Regions from separate parts of the Homo sapiens genome. Here regions 1, 2 and 4 are each linked to region 3. The links are contacts of gene promoters, found by promoter capture Hi-C in blood cells and fetal thymus (Javierre and others, 2016). All regions are on one chromosome and are shown on one strand. The core of a region is centred on a gene start or on the middle of the fragment in contact, and the rest is flanking DNA. Distances in the headings are between cores, read along the strand shown.

Region 1 (2,932 bases), core at 54-2,553, 1.2 Mb after region 3:
ATGTCAGGAACCCCAAACCTGTAAAGATATAAATAGGACTCATAGTACATACACAAATTGGAATATCAAAAGGAACAAGTAATACAAAAACAGCAAGAATTCTATATGCTACAATGGCAAACACAACATTAAAGAAATTGTTTTTACTTCTCCCCATTTCTACGCACACATTATTATACCAACCTAGCTGTGTTTCTTGATCAGTCCTTCCAGTTCCAGGGAAATATGCCATGATCTTGGGACACTGCTTTTGTTAGATCTAGACTTGACAATTAGGCTACTCCTCTCTTTGCATATCCCAGTCTGCTGCGTCTGTCCCAGGCCCTCACCTATAAAAGGGAACCAACAAACATGTGATAATCAGCTCTTTATTTTACCAGTTGTCATGACAACCTTGAAGCTACGTTGTAACCTTTAGTTACCACAAGAGCAAGTCAAATACAAGTCAAACCCAAATCTACAAACCACAAACACCCCAAACCTTCCCAAAAGATTTACATGAAAGGTTAAAAAAAAAAAAAAAACTAGCAGGCAAGAATGATGTTAATAAAACCTAGAAATGATGGCCAAAGTAGCATTATTCTCCTCGCGTTCTCCTAAATTGTTAAGCTCCTGAGGTCAGTGCATGCATGTGGTCAACAAATGATTGTTTAGTAGCTATTGTGAACAAAAGAATGTATTATAATTTCTTTTGAGCAGGGAGTAGGAGGTGGGGCTGGCCTTAAGGGTTGCTGAGACCTTGAGATAAAAAGAGATACCTAAGTTGCTCAAAAACAGAGGTTGTTGTTTCTAATCTAGCTGGGAGAAAAATACAGGCAATTTAAAGGAAACTATCTAAAAGTACTTACAAATCCCTCATACTGCAGGCAGAAAGCATAAACAGTGAGGAATAAAATGATAATTGGCCTTGGCAAGTTTAGTATGGGATAATTGAAAAGAGGCAGGCAAAATTATTATTTCTGGCTGAATTTTGAAAGCAATTTCAGAACTATTACATTTCAATGCAATGGCCTTCTCTTCCCCAGGGCCATTCAAGTGGTGAGGATTAAAAGAGTTTGTGGAGTCCTGATAAGATAAGTAAGAAACAATGAGAAAGGGGCCCCAGGTGGGGAAGAACAATGAAAAATTGTTCTGAGAGACCTAGGGCACAAAGACCTCCTTCCACATGTGGCCCCAGCAGCATGACTTGTTTCCACATGCAGCCCCCTCCAGCTCCCTCCAGCCCCTGCCTCTTTGCAGACAGCTCCTCCTCTGCAGTGCTGCCCTTTGCCTCCTTGCAACATACTTCCATACCTTCTCTAGTAAATCTGCCTTTCTTTACCTACAACTGTCTTGGTCAATTCCTTTACCACCTGCGCCACTGGCCAGCTGCACCTGCAACATTTTGGTAGTTCGTATGGGCCTCTCCCCTACTTTCTCCCTTTCCTCCAATTCCAACCTCTCGTTGGACAGTGTCAAAACCCTGAGATAATTTTAAGTCCCTGGCCGGGGCTGCTCCCCAGGGAACCAGAAGGTCCTGGTGGAAAGACACCAGACTGCTGTCCCACGATTCTGTGAGACTTCAGAATTTGCTTTACTTTTCAGTCTTCCAGAGGACAAATTCTAGTATCCCTCTGGCAATTGATGGCAACTGGTCAGGGCCATTTCCTGGTGTGGCCTCAAGGCCAGCGGGTGTGAACAGGTTTGGCTGCCTTGCCTAGAAGGGAAGAAGGCCCTCTCCTATCTCTTCTGGCGAAAAGGTCTGCAATCCCTATGTAGTGCAATTGGCACATATGTTTTGGGGAGCTCAGAGCCCCTCTTTCTTACTCTAAATAGTCCTGCAAAAACAGCCAGACCTCCTGCTCTGGACGTTCCCAAATTAGGTGATAGCAAGCAGCCTCAGAGCAGTGAGTCTCCCCATTCTGGTCCTCTCTCCTGGGATGGGACCAGGCTGAGTTCTTCCTTTACCCTTTTTCCTTGTACCGGGGCTAACCATCCAGCGTAAGGCCCCAGCGCTGAGATGTCCTTTCTAATAGGTGGGATGCCCCTTTAGAGAGTGCACTTGAGGCCGGGCACGGTGGCTCATGCCTGTAATCCCAGCACTTTGGGAGGCCGAGGTGGGTGGATCACCTGAGGTCAGGAGTTCAAGACCAGCCTGGCCAACATGGCGAAACCCCATCTCTACTAAAAATACAAAAAATTAGCTGGACGTAGTGGTGCATGCCTGTAATCCCAGCTACCTGGGAGGCTGACACAGGAGAATCGCTTGAACCTGGGAGGCGGAGGTTGCAGTGAGCCGAGATCCCACCACTGCACTCCAGCCTGGGCGACAAAGCGAGATTCCATCTCAAAAGAAAAGAAAAGAAAGTGCACTGGAATCCCTCAGCAGATGTGAGTTGAGCCCTCTTCCTGGTGGGGCAGGGGGGTGGGGGCGGCGAGAGAGTGTGGTTCGTGTCTGCAGCAGACGTTAGTCCCCGGCAGCTCATCGTTTTCCAGTCCCACCATGGGACAAACCTCCTCTATTCCGTCAGACTCACCTATGAGTTGCATCCCAAAACGCTGAGACAAATGTAACCCTCAGATTAAAAAAAAAAAAAAAGTCGAATTTTCTTTTGTAATACAGCATGGCCCCTATGCAGAAAACCTCAAATCAGTCTCCTCAGTCTTTTATAACCAAGAGCAGGATAAGGACAGGGCTAAGGAGAAAGAAAAATGCAGGGACAAGAAGCAGGCTCAACTGTTGGCTGCTTTGCAAGCCCCCAGCCTCCATTCCAGGCTGCCCTAAGGATACTCCTCCAGATAACTGCCATCAGTGCAGAAGCCCAGGCCACTGGAAGGCAAACTGGCCCTATGGCATGAATGACGAAAAACCCCCGCATGGCTTGCCCCCTCTGCCACAAGCTCGGCCACTGGAAATGGGACTGCCCTGGAGGGCCAAAGGGTCCCTGGGACA
Region 2 (3,108 bases), core at 498-2,997, 1.5 Mb after region 3:
TAAAAACAACAGCCACTACCATTTTTTTGAGTACCTATTTGTAGCCTATTTTTTAACTGGTATTACTCGAGAGAGAGAGAGCTAGGTTCGAGACAGAGCTCCTTCTCTTAATAACTGTATGACCTAGGGTATGTCTGTTAGCCTCTCTGAGGCTTCAAAGGTTCCTCATCTGTAAAATGGTAATAATCATACCATTGCTACAGGGCTGTTTTGAAGACTAATTAGGACTATGTAAGTAAACATGATGATGGCTATTATTACTGTTCCCCGCCAGGGGCCATGCAAGGGTTGCTGATTCACATAGACTGTCTTATAATCCTCTCAATAACTCCAAGAGGTAGCCAGCACCTCAGATATACATAAAATGACTTAAGCCCAGAGAGGTGAAGTAAGTTGCCCACAGCCACACAACTAGTAAATAGCCCAAACAAGCTGGATTCCCAGTTAGACTCCGTTAATAGCACTGCTCTTTACCTTAAGTCATTACAATGCCTAATATGAAATAGAATCGCTTCTTTCTTAGGGTTCAAGTGGTTAATTATTTAATGTATTCATTCAACAAACCATCATCGAGGACCTCTTACAAGCCAAGTACTGTGCTAAGTGCTAGAGTTACGGCGGTGATTCCTGCCCTTAAAAAGTTTTAGTGGGAGAAACAACAGGTAACCAGGTCATTGCCAAAACAACAAAAATAATCATAATAAAGCAGGCTAAAGCATATTTAACTGGCCGGGGTTTTGACTATTTTAGCAAGCATGATCAGAACGGTTGAGGAGGGAGGCCAGCAGCTTGGCCGGTTCAACAAACAAGAAAAAACCAGTGAGGGTGGAGCTAAGATACCAGAGGCTGATTACGGTTAAGAATGTTCTTGAAGGTAAGGACCAGATTCTCATTTTCTATATCCTGGGGCATCGGTCAGCATGGAATCTGGATTCTAGCACATGTGAATTTCGGCTTGAAATGACCTAATGCCTTTTCCCTAGTTCCTTCGTGTGTCAAATACGCATGGTTACCGCTACCAGAGCTGTAGTGGGGCTTCAATGAGGCCATGAGCATCTCCATAAAGATGAACTACAGTGTGTGCAAAACTAAAGGCAAAACCTGGTCCCCACACGCCCTCCCAGGTGGTCGCTTTCCGTGCCGAGGCCCCTCCAGAGGTGCCCCGAGAACCTCACCATCGCACCCCAAACTTCCAGGGAAGGGCCTCTCCCGAGAAAGCCCCCACGCCCCCACCCCGCGCCATCATTCCCGAATCTGCCCTCGGCCCCTCCCCGCAGCACGCTCGCAGGCGGCACATGTCAACCAAAACGCCATTTCCACCTTCTCTTCCCACACGCAGTCCTCTTTTCCCAGGGCTCCCCCGAGGAGGGACCCACCCCAAACCCCGCCATTCCGTCCTCCCTGCCGCCCTCGCGTGACGTAAAGCCGAACCCGGGAAACTGGCCGCCCCCGCCTGCGGGGTTCCCTGGGCCCGGCCGCCCGAGCCCGCACTGCGGATCCCGCGCCTCAGGGCCCGGCCGCCACCTGCCGCGTGGGCCTGAACCGGCCAGGGCCGGCAGGCCGAGCTGCTCACCACGACGCCAGGGCTGCGGGTCGCCATAACGGAGCCGGCCGGCGCGCGGGCTGACTGCTCAGGAGGAGGAAGCCGGTGGCGGAGCAGAGGAGGAGGCGGAGGCGCAGCAAGAGGCGGCGCCGCGCGGGAAAGCCGAGAGGTTCGCCTGAGGGCTCGTCGCAGCCGCCTGAAGCTGAGGAGAAGCAGGCCCCGCCCTCTGCCCGCCCCGCCACGCCCCGCAGGCCCCGCCCCCGGCCCCGCCCGCGCGCCTACGCCGGCGCCTACCAGTTTGCAGGCTCACTAGGTAGCCGTGGGAATTTTCTCCCAGAAGAAGCCGAGGCTCCCCCAGCGAAGCCCCTTTCCCTCCCAACTCAGTCTCCTATTCAGAGGGCTCCCTGATTCCCAAACCTACCGGCGCGCGTTGCTTCATGGCGGCCGTAAACCGGGCCCCGGCTCTTCGGGTTCCAGTCATCGCGTGAATCCTTGGACCAGACGTCCCATTCCCAAGACCTTGCACTACCTGTGGCTTCCATTTTCCTGACTCTTGGCCCAGTGCTTCCCCAAACCCTTAACTGGTTGTAACAGTTGAGACCTAGAGTCCTAGAGTCACCCAGATCAGGGTACACATCTGAGAGGACACTTAACTGCTCTGTAGTTTTGTACAAATCAGACTCTGAGCCTCTATTTTTGCCTCACTAAAATGAGCATATTAGCCCGGCGCGGTGGCTCATGCCTGTAATCCCAGCACTTTGGGAGGCCGAGGCAGGTGGATCACTCAAGGTCAGGAGTACGAGACCAGCCTGGCCAACATGGCGAAACCCCATCTCTACTAAAAATACAAAAATTAGCTGGGCGTGGAGGCGGGCGCCTGTAATCCCAGCTAGTCCGGAGGCTGAGGCAGGAGAATCACTTGAACCCGGGAGGCGGAGGTCGCACTGAGCTGAGATCGCACCACTGCACTTCAGCCTCCGCGACAGAATGAGACTCCGTCTCAAAAATAAATAAAAATAAAAATAAATAAAAATTTAAAAATAAAATGAGCATATTAACAATACATAAACAGGATCATTTTGAGTATTAGAGGAGTATAGGTATGCGTGTGTGTATGTATATATATATGCACTTAGGACAGTACAGTCAGCAAATGGGAACTACTGTTATTACTACTGATCTTTATTTTTGCCCACACAAGTTCTTATATTGAATCTGAAAACAAAAATATGTTCCCCTGCTAATTAATTCTCAGATAGGTCAGGTAAGCAAGCAACAGTTGCTCCAGCAACACCATTTCTTATATACTCAACCCTATAGCTCCAGCATCCACCACAGTGCCCAGCACATAGTTGGTGGCCTCCCTCTTATTAAGGACGCTGAGGGGTATGTGATGGCAGGAGATTTGTAAAACTAGGCAAGTCATTGAGCTTCTCTGGACCTCAGTCTCTTCATCTAAAAAATGAGAATAATAAACCTGGGTAACATGGTGAGACTCAGTCTCTACAAAAATGAAAAATTATCTGGGCCTGGTGGCCATGTGCCTGTAGCCCCAGCTACTTGGG
Region 3 (2,845 bases), core at 37-2,536:
CTTTGCCACTCAGTCAGGGGTCACTGGAGGAACTGGTGCAGAATTTGGAAAAAAAGGATGAATTCCATTTTAGCCATATTACGTTTTAAGTGCCACAGGAAATAAATGCCTATCTGGTAGTCAGAAATGCAGCCCTGGAGCTAAGGAGAGATATTTGTGATAGAGATGTCGATTTGGAATCACTGTAATACCTTTGCTGGCTGAAGCGGTGGGAATGAATGGGTGAGCTCCCCAGGGGACAGCAGAGTGATGAGGTCAAGGGGAGAAGCTCACTATTAAATGTCTACATTTCAGGAGATGAAGACAAAGAAAAATGGGCAGAGGAGTATACATTTTACCCGGATCAGAGATAGAGACAAGGCAAGAAGGCTGCGTTATTAGCATTTTAAAATTTCCTCTTTCATTTCTTCCTTAATGTAAGCTGGTTCTTTTCACGACAAAACACTCCCCCCGCGCTACACCTCTTTTTGCGCGAATCTTTCTCCAGGACCTTAAAATGGTTTACTGAGCACTTCCCGCGAGCCAAGTATTTGGGGTTCCAGATCCTGGGATTTTGTCCTGACACTGCCTCCTCGTTTTAACACCCTTGCCTCCTTCTGCAGTGCCAGTTTCCAGGGAGCTGAAGCACAGGAAAGGCCTACAGAAAACAAAAGGCACAGTTTCACAAAAAGCCAAAACCAACCAACCCACAAAACACAACTGTCAGGGGTCTATATCCAGCACCTACCGCCTTTCCCCAACGCCCCCAGCCCCGCCCCTCGGCCCCACCTCCTCCCGCCCCTCGGCCCCACCTCCTCCCCGCCCCCTCGGTCCCACTCCTCCGCGCCCCCTCGGTCCCACCTCCTCCCCGCCCCTCGGTCCCACCTCCTCCCCGCCCCCTCGGCCCTCACCCACTCTCCGTCCCCTCCGCCCCGCCCCCTACGCCCCACCCATCCTCCCGTAGGCCCCGCCCTCGGCCCCACCTCCTCCCCGCCCCTCGGCCCCACCTCCTCCCCGCCCCTCGGCCCCACCTCCTCCCCGCCCCTCGGCCCCACCCATCCTCCCCGCAGGCCCCGCCACTCGACCGCACCCACCAGGGCCCCCCCCCCCCGGCTACGCCCACCCACCCACCCACTGGCCCCGCCCCTCGGCTACACCCACCCTCGTGCGGGCCCCGCGCGTCTTCCCCACCCCGCCCGTCTGCCTACCCCGCCCCTCGCCCCCACACGTTCTCTACGCAGGCCCCCGTCCCTCTGCCCCACCCTGTTCTCGCCACTGGCCCTGCCCCCATTTGCCGGCGCCCTTCCTCTTCGCTTCCCCGTAGCTCCCGCTTTCGCCTCTTCGTTTATGACTCCGTTGGGCTCCGGCCCTCCTAGAGAGGCCTCCATAGCGCAGGTTCGTGGGTTCTCGCGGACCTTTTTCCGTGTAGCTTTCTGCTTCTTCCCGGCATTCCTGTTTCCGTTTTCTCACAGCCCTCTGGCTTTTCCACCACTGAGACACTTTGCGCTCAGGACTTCAGTGACGTCATCTTTCTGCGGCGCGCGGACACCCGCCGGTGGAAGAAGAAACAGCTCCGCCGTCCTTCGCTTCTTTTGCTGGGCTGCTGCTCCTTCGGCATCATGGCGCCGTCGCTGTGGAAGGGGCTGGTGGGCATCGGTCTCTTTGCCCTAGCCCACGCCGCCTTTTCCGCTGCGCAGCGTAAGTGCCTGGGGCACGGGGACCGCTTCGGTGTGGAACCCTAGGGGCGGTGTGTGGGCGCACTTCTAAGGGACCATCGGACCGAGTGTCAGATTAATGGTCCTTTGAGACCTTACAGTTTGGGGTGACTAAGAAAATCAGTGCAGGAGTTCCCAGTGGAAGGTTCGGAGTTTGAATTTGGAGAGAGTGTGGCACCTGAAATTGCAGGAAGGTTGGAAGGAGGTGTCTGGGAGAGGGTTCAGAATAGGAGTCTCCAGGAATCCAGGACAAGTGATGTCAGATCCAGCATGGGGCAGATCAGGCACAGTTGTGAGATTGAGGACTCTGGTTGCTCATGGTCCCACGACAACCAAGTGGACAACATCTTGGGCACTCTTGGGCTGTCCAGGCAGAGACTGAGTAGTTAAGTGACCGATTGCCTCAGGGAGGCACTGTGGTACAGGAGAAAGAGCACTGGACTGGGAGTCTAAAGGACTGGTTGTTAAAAACTTGCATTACCGCTACATCTGTGTGACGTTGGGCAAAAGATTTGTGCTACACTGCGTTATGAAATTCAGTTTTGGGTCGCTGTTTGAAATTGCGCTGTGTTTAGGTGCTAGAGATACAGTGATGCCCTGAGCCAGTTCAAAGTCTAAAGGAAAACAAGTGGATCAAGAAGTAGTTACAATAAAGTGATATGCTAAAAGTATATAAGGATGCATGGAAGCAGGGACAGTCATATTTTGGGGGAACTGGGAGGTTAAGGAAAGTATCCTAGATCCTTGCTGCTTACAGTGTGATCAACAGACCAGCATCATGAGCACCACCTGGCAGGTAATTAGAAGATACTCAGGCCAGACCTGTTCAATCAGAATCTGGGTTTTAATAAGATCCCAGGGTGATTTGTATGCGCATTAGTTTGAGAAACACTGTCCTGGAAGAGATTAGGATACACTGGAGTACTGTGTCATTTTCTACAGTAAGCTTTAACTGTAGAATTATATGATTGTGGGGCGAGAAGGGCCTTTGGAGTTCACTGAAGTCCAACCCCTTCATTTTACAGATGAGGAAATTCCTGGTTAAAGGTAGTGTTAGAAGCAGGCGAGGCTTCATGCAAACTAGCAAGCTAGCTAGGAATTGAACCAGATAGGAGATTAGTCAAAATCGATTTTTGGTGTTGGTTTGATGT
Region 4 (3,048 bases), core at 351-2,850, 1.2 Mb after region 3:
TCATTCCTCCGAATTAGGTTAGGTTACCCATGTTATATATTCTCATAGCCCCTTGTATCTTTCCTTTATCACTTTTACTGCAAATTATAATTATATATTTATTAGCATGATTATTTAAATGTCTGTCTCCTGCACAATACTGTAAATTCAATGAGGGCTGGGACCACGTCTGTTTTAAACACCATTGTATTTCTAATATCTAGTGTGCTTCCTGCACTTGGCAGGCACTCAGTAAATATTAGAATAAGTGAATGATTGAATTCAGGGCAAATATAAAGCATAGAGCTTATTACTGGATTGATGGAAACCAAAGCCAGAAAGGCAGCTTGATGCCAGACTGTAAAGGCTCTCAGTTCCTTGCTGAAGTATGGAGCCAGATTCATGAGTCAGGCCAGGTTGATGGTTGGGGAACAGTGAGCCCCCAGGCTGGATAGGGAAGGAATCCCTGGGCTGGGTATAGAGGTTCTTGATGTCCAGATCTGGAGTTTTACTGGAAGGATAGGAACAGGAGCCAGTTGTCAGGATAAAGAGGCAATAGACAACGGGTATTGAGACCACAAGTGTAGATTATTCATTGTAGAAGCTTAACTGGAGAATAACTGAAGGGATCAAAGAAAGGGACTCTTCTAGAAATAGACCTTTGGGTTTTGAAAGCAAGAAGAAAGGAAATAGTGTAAGGAATTATAAATGGCATAGAATTGGAGGGGGAAATCATTTAAAAAATGTGTTTGAATTGAAGGCCCTTTGGGAATGGGGAAGTGATAACTCTAGGGGAGTTGAAAGACTTTGTTTTAGAGTAGAGGAACTATGAGGCAGTGTACTTGATCGAACACCTCTGATAGTCCGAGTATGGTTACCTCAATAAGTAACCATTCCTCTTGCTCCAAGCCTGATGGGAAGGTAAACATAAGAATAGAAATTTCTTGAGCTGAAGTGAAGTGAAGGAACTCCCTCCCGAAAACCATGGCATGTCACGAGGAACGTTTATTGTAGGTTAGGCGGTCTGGTGCCTCTAGGGGGGACAATCAAATGATACAGGACCTCGAAGAGTCTTACTTTGGATTTCTGTGGCTTTATAATGTAGTATATTATGTAGTTCATTGCTGTGGCTTTATGCTTTTTTATTATTTACAAGTGATTTACTGATTTGTGAGCTCTTGAAACTGTGTCATTGCATGTTATGTTTACCCTGATAGTTGCATTTGCTTATAATTCTTTTTGCTTTGTCTTCAGTTCAGATATTTTGGATGGCAGTAGTAGCAGCAGTGGCTTATCCTCAGACCCGCTGGCTAAAGGCAGCGCTACCGCAGAGTCTCCAGTAGCATGCTCCAATTCATGCTCTTCGTTCATCTTGATGGATGATCTCTCACCCAAGTGACTTAACCATTTCTGATTCAACGTTTTAACTGCTGTTTCCTACATAAAATGTTTAGTGGGGAACGCAGAGAACTTTGATCCATAATGAGGATTAAAGTTTTACAGATTTCACACATTCTGATGCTATTATTACTCTTTGGCATCTCTCTTCTCCAAAGTTCAATTTTGTGAGCCTAGTGACCTTACTAGTATCTGGTTTTGCTGATCTCATTTTGGATTTAGTGATTAAATCTCAAATGCTGATTTTTGATTGCTTAGAGGAATCTTTTTTCTTAGTGCCTCAAAAAACACCTATTTTGAGTCTATACATTTAAGAAAGGCACTGATGTGTATTGCCTTTAATGGTCCTTTTCCGCAGCAGTGATATGACAGATTTGATCAGAAATTCTCTTGCTTGAGAGATTTTTTTTTGTCCTCTGTTGACTACATAGTTTCAAATCTCTCTTTATTTCATGATGATATATAAATTGCTTTTAATTATATTAAATTTTTATTTTTCTGCATCAGCTTCAAGTACATTATTTTGTTTCCCTTTCCTGTTTGAGCCGCTTATGCCATTTCTCACAGAGGGGAAGAAATACGTAGTTGCTTTCATTACTCTTATTGCTTCTTTGCTGTTGGGGTGTGTGAAGTGAGCATTGATTTTAGTGCTGAGAATGTAAACGGACTTACAGGATGCTTGGATTAGTCATCACAGGTTCTTATGACTTTGCTACCACAGTTGATATATTTCTCCTCAAACCTGTTGCCCTAAGGAATATATAAAATATTGTTGATATTTCTAGGTGGTGTTATCAAGGAGAAGAAATTCCTGCCTTGACCAGATGTGTGGAGCATCTACAAATGAATGAATAGTTATTTACACACAAACCACTGTGTACAAAAGCGTCCATGGAGCTGTCAGTGTCTCGAGTGGTATTATGAGGCCTCAGGTGCCTTGGGGTACATTGTCATGCTATAAGGGATGTATATCATAAGGTATGGTGGAAGAGGGGCCTTATGTGAATGATTGCCACATACTGTTTCTGTTGCTGCTTTTTTTCCGATTCCTTTTTGTCATTGGATTTGTTTGTTTTGTCATGTGGTGAATGGTGTTTTAGTTATTGTGTTGCTGCCAGAATCAGAATCCAGTTCTTGTTCTTACTGCCTTATAGTTATTGTGTTGCCACCAGAATCAGAATCCAGTTCTTGTTCATACTGCCTTGTAGTGAGGGCAGTTTAATATCTACAAAGAAGCTTTTAGAAGCTGAAAAAGTCAATGTGATTGTGCATTCTGCTTTTAAGAAGCTGTTTCAGCTATGAACTGTGTATGTGCTATAAGTGTGAGGTACCATAAGTTATTTAATTTTTAAAAGAGGAAACTCCTGAGTGAGCTGTTTAAGAAATCTGAGTGTGATCTATTGTTACGTTATTTATAACTAGGTAAAATGTCTGTCGTGATAGATTTCTTTTAACGTTCAGATACTGTGGTTGGGTTGTCTATATTTAATATGCAGATTTGCCTGCTGGAATCATAATCCATTTTTAAGTGAATGTAAGAAATGAAAACTACTGCATTTGTGTCTTTTGAAGGCAAGGATCCTTGGATTTTAAAGGAAGAGTATGTGCTTTGAAGGCACTCAGAGACTAGTAATAGCATATGGTTTGAAGGGAAACCCATTCTCTTTCAAT

The links. Contacts are between HindIII fragments. The CHiCAGO score rates a contact against its expected background, and 5 or more counts as called.
Region 1: a fragment that was not itself captured here is called in contact with the fragment with the promoter of MMGT1 in region 3 in 4 of 17 cell types (total CD8 T cells, total B cells, naive CD4 T cells and 1 more); the score reaches 7.7 in total CD8 T cells.
Region 2: a contact is called between the fragment with the promoter of HPRT1 here and the fragment with the promoter of MMGT1 in region 3, in 2 of 17 cell types (monocytes and neutrophils). The highest score is 6.2, in monocytes.
Region 4: a fragment that was not itself captured here is called in contact with the fragment with the promoter of MMGT1 in region 3 in 1 of 17 cell types (neutrophils); the score reaches 5.0 in neutrophils.

Annotation. Positions count from the first base shown.
Region 1 is chrX:134,801,498-134,804,429 of GRCh38, reverse strand. It overlaps a transcript of PABIR3 not described here. Among named protein-coding and RNA genes, the nearest start is that of PABIR3, 4.3 kb to the left of the region's middle. The HindIII fragment of the contact is 7,504 bases long and covers 1-2,932 here.
Region 2 is chrX:134,458,804-134,461,911 of GRCh38, reverse strand. It overlaps HPRT1 (hypoxanthine phosphoribosyltransferase 1), which reads right to left and starts at 1,747. Exons shown (of 9, transcript NM_000194.3): 1 at 1,574-1,747. The coding sequence starts at 1,600. RefSeq lists silencers at 1,476-1,655, 1,756-1,875. The HindIII fragment of the contact is 6,801 bases long and covers 1-3,108 here.
Region 3 is chrX:135,972,429-135,975,273 of GRCh38, reverse strand. It overlaps MMGT1 (membrane magnesium transporter 1), which reads left to right and starts at 1,286. Exons shown (of 4, transcript NM_173470.3): 1 at 1,286-1,677. The coding sequence starts at 1,599. It also overlaps a transcript of SLC9A6 not described here. RefSeq lists a silencer at 1,088-1,197 and an enhancer at 1,208-1,737. The HindIII fragment of the contact is 2,640 bases long and covers 3-2,642 here.
Region 4 is chrX:134,770,469-134,773,516 of GRCh38, reverse strand. It overlaps PABIR2 (PABIR family member 2), which reads left to right. Exons shown (of 10, transcript NM_001387468.1): 10 at 1,234-3,048. The coding sequence ends at 1,378. Among named protein-coding and RNA genes, the nearest start is that of PABIR2, 25 kb to the left of the region's middle. The HindIII fragment of the contact is 2,030 bases long and covers 586-2,615 here.